Regions from separate parts of the Homo sapiens genome. Here regions 2 and 3 are each linked to region 1. The links are contacts of gene promoters, found by promoter capture Hi-C in blood cells and fetal thymus (Javierre and others, 2016). All regions are on one chromosome and are shown on one strand. The core of a region is centred on a gene start or on the middle of the fragment in contact, and the rest is flanking DNA. Distances in the headings are between cores, read along the strand shown. Region 1 holds the start of STARD5 (StAR related lipid transfer domain containing 5). Region 2 overlaps EFL1 (elongation factor like GTPase 1). Region 3 overlaps EFL1 (elongation factor like GTPase 1).

Evidence for each region. Contacts are between HindIII fragments. The CHiCAGO score rates a contact against its expected background, and 5 or more counts as called.
Region 2: a fragment that was not itself captured here is called in contact with the fragment with the promoter of STARD5 in region 1 in 1 of 17 cell types (erythroblasts); the score reaches 5.3 in erythroblasts.
Region 3: a fragment that was not itself captured here is called in contact with the fragment with the promoter of STARD5 in region 1 in 1 of 17 cell types (erythroblasts); the score reaches 5.7 in erythroblasts.

The regions. Positions count from the first base shown.
Region 1 is chr15:81,322,156-81,325,408 of GRCh38, forward strand. STARD5 (StAR related lipid transfer domain containing 5) reads right to left here and starts at 1,986. Exons shown (of 6, transcript NM_181900.3): 1 at 1,846-1,986; 2 at 744-793; 3 at 253-385. The coding sequence starts at 1,944. TMC3-AS1 (TMC3 antisense RNA 1) reads left to right here and starts at 2,178. Exons shown (of 7, transcript NR_120365.1): 1 at 2,178-2,406. RefSeq lists a silencer at 2,478-2,527. The HindIII fragment of the contact is 9,334 bases long and covers 567-3,253 here.
Region 2 is chr15:82,157,047-82,160,589 of GRCh38, forward strand. EFL1 (elongation factor like GTPase 1) reads right to left here. Exons shown (of 20, transcript NM_024580.6): 17 at 667-814. Among named protein-coding and RNA genes, the nearest start is that of LINC01583, 70 kb to the left of the region's middle. The HindIII fragment of the contact is 1,253 bases long and covers 1,019-2,271 here.
Region 3 is chr15:82,230,961-82,234,469 of GRCh38, forward strand. EFL1 (elongation factor like GTPase 1) reads right to left here. Exons shown (of 20, transcript NM_024580.6): 8 at 1-11. Among named protein-coding and RNA genes, the nearest start is that of EFL1, 30 kb to the right of the region's middle. The HindIII fragment of the contact is 457 bases long and covers 1,285-1,741 here.

The sequences.
Region 1 (3,253 bases), core at 736-3,235:
CCACACAAGGAACAGGTATGCTCCCCGCAGAGACTCTGTTTGGGGCTTCTCTCCCTCTCTGAGTCATGAGGTTTCCCACCGGGAAACTGGGCTGAGGCAGGCCTCCAATGCTGCAAGCAGTGGGCAGCCTGTGCTTGCAGGACACACCCCCTTAACAAAAGGTATCACGGACCCCTTCCAGAAGAAATGGGAGGGGGTTACTATAGCCTGGCCCAGACACTATCTAGAGATAACATGCTTGGAAAGACTTACGTCAGTGATGCTTTGGATAATTTCAAAACCGGTCACATTCTCATCCCACTTCACTCGTAGGCCTCCAACAGCTGGCTTCACACAGTCCCACACCTCCTCTAGTGTCCCATATACAATGCCTTCTCCTCGGTACCTGGAGCACGAAAAGGAATTTGACCCCAACGCATCAATCAAACTTGTTATCTTGAGATTGTATCTAAGGACTAGAAGGTGGACCATGCCATGTCTGTCACTACTCTTTAGGACAGACTTGCAGAGAAGGGGCTGAAAGTCACTAGCCCCGCCTCCCTTCAGGCCTGCAGAAATGGACAGTAAGCTTTCACAAGAATACAGTTTGCTGGAAATGATTTCATTAAAAACAGTAAGGCTTTTCTGGAGGACAAGTGATCACAGGTTATAGGGTTGATTTGAATATTTTAGGAGGCAGGCCCATAAAGATACCAGGAAGGGTGCGGCACCTCTGGTAATCTTTGAACGAGGCATGCACTTACAGGTTCCCTGGAAACTCCACAGATGGCCTCCAGGAAACTGAAACTCCATTCTGTCAAAAGGCACAGAACCACAGAATTTTAGAGCTAGAAGGGCTCTGGTCACCTGGCTTAATCCCCTGTTCTACAGAAGAGGGGTAAGAGGCCTCAAGAGATACGACTCTCCAAGGCTGTGCAACCCATACGTGGAAAAGCTGGGACTAGTCTTGGGCAAAGCTGTCCCCACAGCAGAATGTGATGAAGAAAAAGATCTTAACTGGCTGACTCCAAGAGCCGTGGGTGGTTTTTAAAATTATCTTAAAAGCCACCAGGCATTCTGTTTCCTTGAGCAACCCAGGGCTACTTAATGAAAAGTCAGAAGGGTCAAGCAAAACTACTCCCATGCTACCCTCTGGCAACGACAAAGAGAGGGGTTCATGCTGTAATGAAAAGTCAGAAGGGTCAAGCAAAACTACTCCCATGCTACCCTCTGGCAACGACAAAGAGAGGGGTTCATGCTGTAATGAAAAGTCAGAAGGGTCAAGCAAAACTACTCCCATGTTACCCTCTGGCAACGACAAAGAGAGGGGTTCATGCTGTAATGAAAAGTCAGAAGGGTCAAGCAAAACTACTCCCATGCTACCCTCTGGCAACGACAAAGAGAGGGGTTCATGCTGTAATGAACACAGAAGAAAACCTTAGTATGCATCAGATGCTGGATCAGACTTTACTGGATTTAAACAACATGTAAAAACCTCCTTAGCTGCGACCACATTCTTTCATTTTGTTTTGTTTTTAAACACCTGCTTACCCCTTAAATGCAATTTATTTACTTTTACCACTGTCACAGAAACATCCAGTCCTAAACAGCATTCAACAGCCAGGTGACCTTGGGCAAGTCACTGAGTGAAAGGAACAGATACTTACCACCTGAAGTCATTGTGAGCATAACAGGCCCAATCTTTTTTTTAAAGAAGAAAACAATCCCCATTGGAATCCCTCTCAATCGGGTCCAGGGGATTGGGGAGCAGAAAACAACGGGGAGAGGAGGCGCTTGGGGGCTTCTGGGGACCCGGGCTCCACGAAGCCGTCTCCGCGACCCCTTCCCGCCCAGCTCCTCACTCACGCCTTCCCGGCAAATCTTCCAGCCTGCTGTGTCCCGCCGGTACTGGAGCATCTTCTCGGCCACAGCCTCGCTCATCTGGGCTGCCAGCGCCGGGTCCATTGCGTCGGGAGCTGCGCTTAGCTGCGGGGTCGCGGGTGTTATGAGCGGCGGCGCTGGATCCCGGGTGCCTGGAGGCTGGAGCTCTGGGAGGAGCTCGTAGCCCCGCCTCTTTCCGCGCCCCCGCTCCCGAATTGGTCCAGGCCCTCAGACGGATCCCGCCTCCCGGAGATTGGCAGGACAAGGAGACCGCGGGGCCAGGCTCTCCAGTTAGCGTCAGCGCCTGGGCGGGTCCCGGACGCCTTGGGCGGGCCGGGTAAGGTCCAGCCGTATCCGCCTCCTTCATGTCCCGCTGTGGGAGGGGCTCTGGAGCGCCGGGACTGTGAGATGGCCAATGACGGTCTGACCCGTTGGGCCGGGCCAGGTCGCGGACAACGTCGACCGTTTGTTTAAGAAGCGTGGACTCTTGTCCTGAGTGCACCGAGGCTTTCAGCCTGCGGGACAGTGGTGCGATTTGCATTAGAGGTAATATGCTAGGGCGGCTGCTGCAGGGTGGGAGAGGAAATGCGCGTGGAGACTGGGCGCGTGCAATGGTGGGAGAGGTGTGTGGCAGGGGTGCGGGGAGTGGGGGTGAAGAGAAGAGGACCCATCGTAGAGTGTTTAGGAGATGGAAGGTGAAGGTCTCTGCCCCCGATTGTGGATGTTCAGAAGGAGAAAGCATCATGACTCCCAGCCTTGGCCACCTGGCAGCTTACCTGAGATGGAGAAGAGATAGGGTGAGTTCAGTTCTGGGCATATTTAGTTGGAGGTGCCTGAAGGGCCTTTAGTGCAGGTGTCCAGGAGTCAATGCAATGCGCTGACATCTGCGAGAGGCCCGGCTTTATTAGAGATATGGGAGTTCTCTGCTTCCAGCTGCCCTGGAGCTGCGGGGAGTGAGCCAGGGTCGCATCTTCACAGCGTGAATGGCAAGGACAGCCTCGGTTTCCCCTCTTCTGCGCTATCACCAACTAAATATTTGAAAAGGTTAATACTGAGGTCTATTTCTTATCTTTCTTTTTTATGTACTTATTGTTTCCTTTAAACTTTCGATATAAATGTTTGGAAGAGTAGTGTAAACAAATTGACAACTTGAAAGACCTTTTTGGAAGATGTGAAGGGCAGCCAGGCTGTGAAGAAGACCTGGATGGGGAATTAGGGAGCTCAAGATCTAAACCCAGTTTCACTCATTATTCTTTGAGCTTCAGTTTACTCCAAGGTGAAATGGGATACATCATAAATGTTCCTGGCGGGGTCCGGTGGCTCACGCCTGTAATCCCAGCACTTTGGGAGGCTGAGGCAGGAGATCACTTGAACCTAGGAGTTCGAGACCAGC
Region 2 (3,543 bases), core at 395-2,894, 830 kb after region 1:
ATACTTCCAGAAGTTTATCTTAACCAAATAATCAGAACTGTGTATATAGATATTTGTGTATATTTGAATATGCATAGAACAGTGCAGATTTATGAATCTGAATGTAATGGTGGTTATTTCTGCATGATAACTGAATGATTCTTTTTCTTCTTCTGCATTTTCCTAATTTCTGCAATAAACATACATTATCTTTGGAACAAAGAAGAAAAATGCCCGTTATAAAAATTTGGGATGCCCATTTTATAATACATATCATCTTTATAGAAAAACATAAAGATTTCCAGAAGGTTTACATTGTAAAGACCACATCAATAAGAGAAGAAGTCTATCCTAATTACATAGCCAACATTTACAAAATAATATCTTGTTTTGTTGTCCTGGTATTTTGTGTGTTTTGTGTACATGCTTAAAGTAAAATACATACACAGAAAAACATTTTATGACTTAAGCTAAAAATGCAAAATTATTCAAGTGTAGGCAGTGAATGCCATTTTTCAGTTATTAAAAAATAAGTCTACAATCGAATAACTGTTCATGTCTGAATTGAGGGCATTTCATTTTTCTCCAAAAATAAGCCGCAGTCTAAGTTCAACTGGTTTAGGAAACACTAAAACATCCCATTGATTGAGAGCTATCATTTCTCCATCGCTATCATTTTCACCTAACCTTTCTTTTAAGTCATCCAGGCATCGCTGAAGGTGGACTTCTCCTGCTGTGACTAAAACGTGCTCTCCCGTTTCCTGAATTAAAATCTGGACACAGGGATCAGCCTGGTTTAACAGTTTCATTCCTTTTACGAGCTGAGGCATTTCACCTAGGTTAACAAAACGAAATAGATTAAATATGATATAAGAACTAACACAATTCAAAGACAATGGCTCTGGCTACTGAAGGGAAAATTACATTGAAATAAACTCTTAAAACAACAATTTATTTTTCTTCCAGATAGTGTAGTGATGTGAAGAAAACTACCTTCTAGTAATTTTTTTGTACAGATAGCAAACATGACACATCCGCAAGCTTACCATCAAGACTCCCAAAGCTGATCTATATTACTTCTTCAAATACTCTGCAGATACAAGCTACCATCTTTTTACTTGTGAATTCACCTAAATCTTATAACGAATGTATACATTATATACCTAGAAATGAAACAGAGCATTTCCTCAAACATCGCCTATAAAATCAACAAATAAGCAAAAGAAACATTTAATGTGATATTCAAGAAACTGTACCAGAGCCTCATATTAAAAATAATTATTTGTGAAACTGCTTGCTAGAACTTGGGTTTTAGAATACCCTAACTAGCTACTTTATCTGGTGAGCTAAAGGCATCTTCTGCATTGTGTTCTGCATGTATTTTTCATATATAATTGCTTTTTCCTGGGAGTTGAGAGTAGGGATAGGGACTGTGACCTACATCTTGGGTTTAGCTGCTTTTTCACCCCCTTTCCACATACTCAACTGCTACTGCTCCCTCAAGGCAGGTCCAAGGAAGTCTCTTGCAGCTGCCTTAGCAGAAACCTTGGTCTTAAAGACGTTTTTATGCAGTCTTGTTTCAATTCTACATTTGAAGAAAAGACTTAGCAATTCCTCAATGCTTGGTTTTCAGCATGTCAAACAAACAAAATCACAGGAACTTTCTGCAATGCAATGATTTTCAACATGCCTTATAAAAGTCGATTAACTGGGAGCAGGAATATTAGAACTTCTATACCTATTTATTTTTGAAATAAAGTTCTAATAATAACTAACATTTCATAGCACTAACAATGTGCCAGACAAGCACTTTACATATATGAGCTCATTAACGATGAGGCGGTATGATGATTGTTCTCATTTTATAGATGAGGAAACAGGTATAGAGAAACTAATAAACTTGTGTTCAAGGTCCCAGACTAACTAAGTGGCAGAACCTGGTTTAGAAGCTGGGCAGCCAGCCAGAGAGCCCATGCTCTGCGGATGGATGTCAGCACACTTGTAGGTCAGGTGATCAAAAGCCACATATGGAATGCAAAGAATCCCAAGGGAAGACGGAAAGTGGGATTTCACTGTGTCCAGGGTTGACAGAGGCACCTTCATTTGTTCCTTTTTGGCATACTGTAATTTTTTTTTTGTCTAATTAAGTGGATTTTCAGATATTATCTAGTGTTAACTAAGCCTTCACAGAATTTTAAACCTGGCTTAAAAGGATTCCTGCAAAGATATCACTGATAATACTATAATACTAATAACATAAGCACATGGGAATAATAAAAAAAGAAATGGCAAAGCTTTTTGTCAGCTCTCCATCAAACAAATTATAAAGTAAAAACAATGGTTATCACCAAGATGAGATCCCAACAAATATTTCTGAAAAAATATATACACACTTAAATCTGTCTCTTCAAGGTAAAATAAAGGTAACAGTTTAACAATAAGAAAAGTTTTTTTTTTTTTTTCAAAAGAAATTTGAAACATGGAGACAACATTTTGAAATTAGGTGTTTGAAAATGTTGCCGCTGACAGCTATTTGGTTGCCAAAGATAACATAAATACTTCATGTATAATGTATAAAAACCTCTTACAATTTGGAAGGTGATTTTCTTAACCTGTTCTTAAAATCACCAAATGGATAGTTCAATAAAGATATAAGAATTAACAAACCTTCTAATTAGTGTAAGAAAAATGGACTGCCATCAGGAAAACTAGATGTTCACTATATACATTTTACCAAAACCTTTTAATAATTGGGAAAATGGAATACTAAAATGGATAACGTGACTTAGTAAAGGAAGCCAACGAATCATTCTTCCCTTTGGACTATGCAATTTTGTGAGGTGCCTTTTCCAGTGATAATGGTCATTAAAATCAAGTGTTTTAACAAATGGAACCTAGAAGCCGACCTTGGAATGGCTATATCACAAAGTGTTCAGGCAAGACCTTCAAAAAGAAGGAAGCATTATTGTGGTAGCCAGCCTCCAAGATGGCTCCAATCATCCTTGCCTCCTGATATTCACATTCCTGTGCAGCTCTCTCCAACAGTGAGTCATGGCTGGCCTGTGTGACCAACAGAACACTGTGGAAAGGATGATGTGTGATTCCCAAGGCTAGTTCACAAAAGGCATTATAGCTTCTGCCTTAGTGTTTTGGAATGCTGGCTGCAGCCAATCACCATGCAGGACACTCAAACAGTCATGTAGAGAGGAACTGAGATTCCCCAGCCAGCACCAACTTGTGAGCCCATGTTTGGAAGTACAGTTAAACCTTCAGATGGCTACCGCCCAAGGTGATGTATGACTACCACTACTTGAGAGACACGATGCTGAACGCTTCCAAATTCCAGACCAAGGGAACTATGAAAAATAAGTGTTGTTTCAAGCCACTAAATTTTGAAGCAATATGTTACATAGTATTAGGTAACTAAAATAATTATAAGCCACAATCACAAATCAATATTATCTATAATTATATGTACATACTGTATGTATCTTCATCAAATACAAATAAAATTAGGTATTTGATTTTCATCTTAATTTTTAAATAACTTCTATTTTGTGCTTC
Region 3 (3,509 bases), core at 263-2,762, 910 kb after region 1:
AGTGCTCAATTCTGAAAGAAGACCAAATGTTCATGTTATTAATAACAACGATTATTGATTTCTGTGACAGGTACTGTTCAAACTTCTTTACACGTGTATTACTAAACTTAATCCAGTATCCTACAAAATTTCCTCATTTTACAGAAAAGGGTAATGAAGCAGAGATATCACACAGGGAACAAGTGAGGTGGGGATTTAAATCCAAGCGGTCTGGCTCCAAAGCCCATGTTCAGGTCTACACCAATATGAATTGTACTACATGCTATAGCTTTCTTTCTTAATTTTGCAGGTGTAAAACAAGATAAAATTAGGGACAAGAAAATGCAAGCTCCAGCTGCCTGTCACAACTATGCCAACAATAAAATTTTATTTCAGCTACTCACTGCTGTTAAGTGACAGCTGCTCACAAATGAAAGAAATTCTTGAGCCACAACCTGCCAAAACAAGATTTTTATTATCCTAGATTAATGGTAAACATACACACACTGACTTAACTCGCATCAACCCACAGAGAAAAACCACTTACCACCGTGGTCTCCAGTCACAGGAAGACAGTCAATCAACAACTAAGGGTCCTATATACAGCATCTGCATTGTCTGGATAAAGGACCTAAGAAATACCTTTTCTTTAGAGAACAATCTAGTTTAAGGTTTGAGATTAGAATTTTCAAAGTACCAGCATCTTAAAAGATGCCTGCTCAGGAAAAAAAAAAAGGATATCCCCAGTTTTTTCCACACCATACTGAAAGCCCAACCTAATGCAATCGCACAAGAAAAGGAAATAAAGGGTATACTGATTAGAAAAGAAGAAATAAAACTATCTTTGTTCACACGTGACTCTTTAATCACTCTTCCACAAATGAAGACAAGGTGAAAGGCTGAAATCCACTGGTAGAGTTCCTATGCCTCAAAAAGAAAGCAGGCTCTGCCTTGCTGCCTACTCTGTGGATCCCTAAAAAGATTCAGGCCTCCTCCTGGCTTCCGGTGTTTCAGCACACCCAGAACGGCACACAGAGCCTTACTTCCAGATGTTAAGTCAGGATACCCTTATCTCTGTGGCTTTTCATTTATAAATACCCAGTTTTGCTAGGCAGGCTGCAACCTGCCATGCAGATTTGCAAATCCAATTCAGGACCTACAGGCAGGTCCAAGGTCCACATATGGAAAGAAACAATAGGAGGCAACCACTGTGGACTGACTTCCCAGGCACTCTCCAACCTAACCTTAGAAGGGAGCCCTATTTGTTAGTAGTGATGCTCCCTGGGGCCTCAATAATACAGCTGAAGCTTTGCTCTCCATATTGGCGACTTGGGTCTATTCTTAGATGGTTAAAACCAGAGATAATGACTGAGCGATGAATACATGAAACCTGTGACATTTTCTTTCTTTTAAATTTGAATTATTTTTTCACCTGATATAGGACCAATTTTTGTATATCCTTCACTGACACTTAAATTCTGACTTTAATTATTCTATTCATATGGTTCATGTTCCTGTCTACTAACCTGTGAAAATCGCCCCCAAACCATGTGCCTACAGAGTTCTACTTATAGTTCTATTTTTGCCTCATGCACTTTGTTGTTATGATAATTGATAGTTAATCTCTTCACTAGTAAATGTGTCAATTATCTATATGAAAATGATCCTTATGCCATAATTCATTTACCATAAATCCTATTTTATTGTTAATATTGCCAAACCTCTCTTTTCATTCACATTTGGTTGACATAATCTGAGCTAAAGCTTTGGTATTTAGCCTCTGTCCATTATGCTTTAAGTTTATCTCTTTTATGTAGCAAACTTATGGATTTATTTTTTTAATAAAATTTCCTTTCTAAAAAATATCTCCTTAGTAGGGGATTTCATACATTTATTGGTATAATCATTTATTGGTACAACTGTTTTGATCAGTTAGATTTCTGGTGTGGTTTCTATTCTTCCAGGATTTTTTTTTAAATGTTGATTTGTGTTACCCAGACTGTATTATACATTATTTTATCTTTTATAATATGTCAGATAAATATCCTGCTCTTAATTCTGAAAGTGGTAAACTTAAAGATTTTTATAAATAAACACTCTAAAACCTCTATCAAAATCATAAATTATAGTAAGACATTTGCCCATTTGCTTAGGCTAGGCTCTTCTAGTCCACCATATTAAATATTCACACATGTGTACACATACGGGTACACAAATCTTTCAAAAATCTTGTTGCTTATCCTTTTCATTCTTTTTTATCCCGTAGTTACTACAAAATTTGCTTAACATCAACCCATTCGACATTACTGCTAGTGTTTTTATTTATTTTTGTCATTAGTTACAATTTTTAAACACTGACAATTTCTAGCACTTCCCCATTCTTGAATTCTATTTTAATTCATTTCCTCTACAGAGTAACTGCAAGCAAGATTCTAAGAGACCTGCAGAAAGATTTATATTCCAAGACTACTGATCTATTCATTGCCTATCTTCCTGAATGACAACTCAGTCAAGTATGAAATTACTGAGCCACACACACCCTTTTGCCCTCCAAGCTACCCAGTAGATTAATGTTAATTACAGAATTCTAATACTCAGTTACACAAAGACAAGTAAATCTATTACAAAGGGCTTTTCATTTCTCTTCTCTCCTGTCCCTCTTCTATAAGGTTGAGGACTCAGTTCTATGTATCTAAAACAAGAACTTAGATTCTTGATGCTACCCATCCAAGTCAATATGCTTCTGCTTTTCAGAGCAGACTCTCCCAGATTAACATCAATTAACAGGATAGATTTCGGGAGAAGACCTAGGTTCAGCCTCTAGTCACACTTCTTAATCCTTTCCCACTGCAGAGTTTATAGAACCATCTTGCAAATTCTGGAATGTGCTCATTTTCCACCTTTTGTGACACATGCAGCTGTCAACTTGGCCTATTCACTGACATTTTAGAGGAAAAGGGGAAGGAAAAAGTCTCTGGTGCTTTCATTTCCACCACTACTTTCCCATAAATTCACATATCAACTTGTTGAGAACAGACAGTAGCCAATCTCTAAATCTGACCTTGTCTAATACAGGGGAACATTCATTTATTGGCTGATAGTATCTAAAAATGTCAAAAGTAAGGGCTATGTAAATTACCCTTATTCTATCCATTCAACTTTCTCCCTATTCCCTGTCCTTCCACAATAAACTTCCCCCAATTTGTGTGATTTAGACTAAAATTAGCATAAAACATTGAATTACTTATGAAAATCAATGTAAGAAAGGGACAAGCCTCCCATCTTGTGGCTTATTAGCAGAATGCTCACAAATCAGGAAATCAACAAGTACGACCGTATTATATGACTGAATGAATCACTGTGAATGAATCTAAAGAAAGTCTTGAAATCATCTTAGCCCAATATTCTTGTTTTTTCAGATAAGTAAACTGAGGCCTAGAAAGGTGATAATGACAACCCATCAACCATATATGAAAAGTACAAATTCTCAGCAGGTTCACAATTTCTATTTTCATCATATATGCATTACT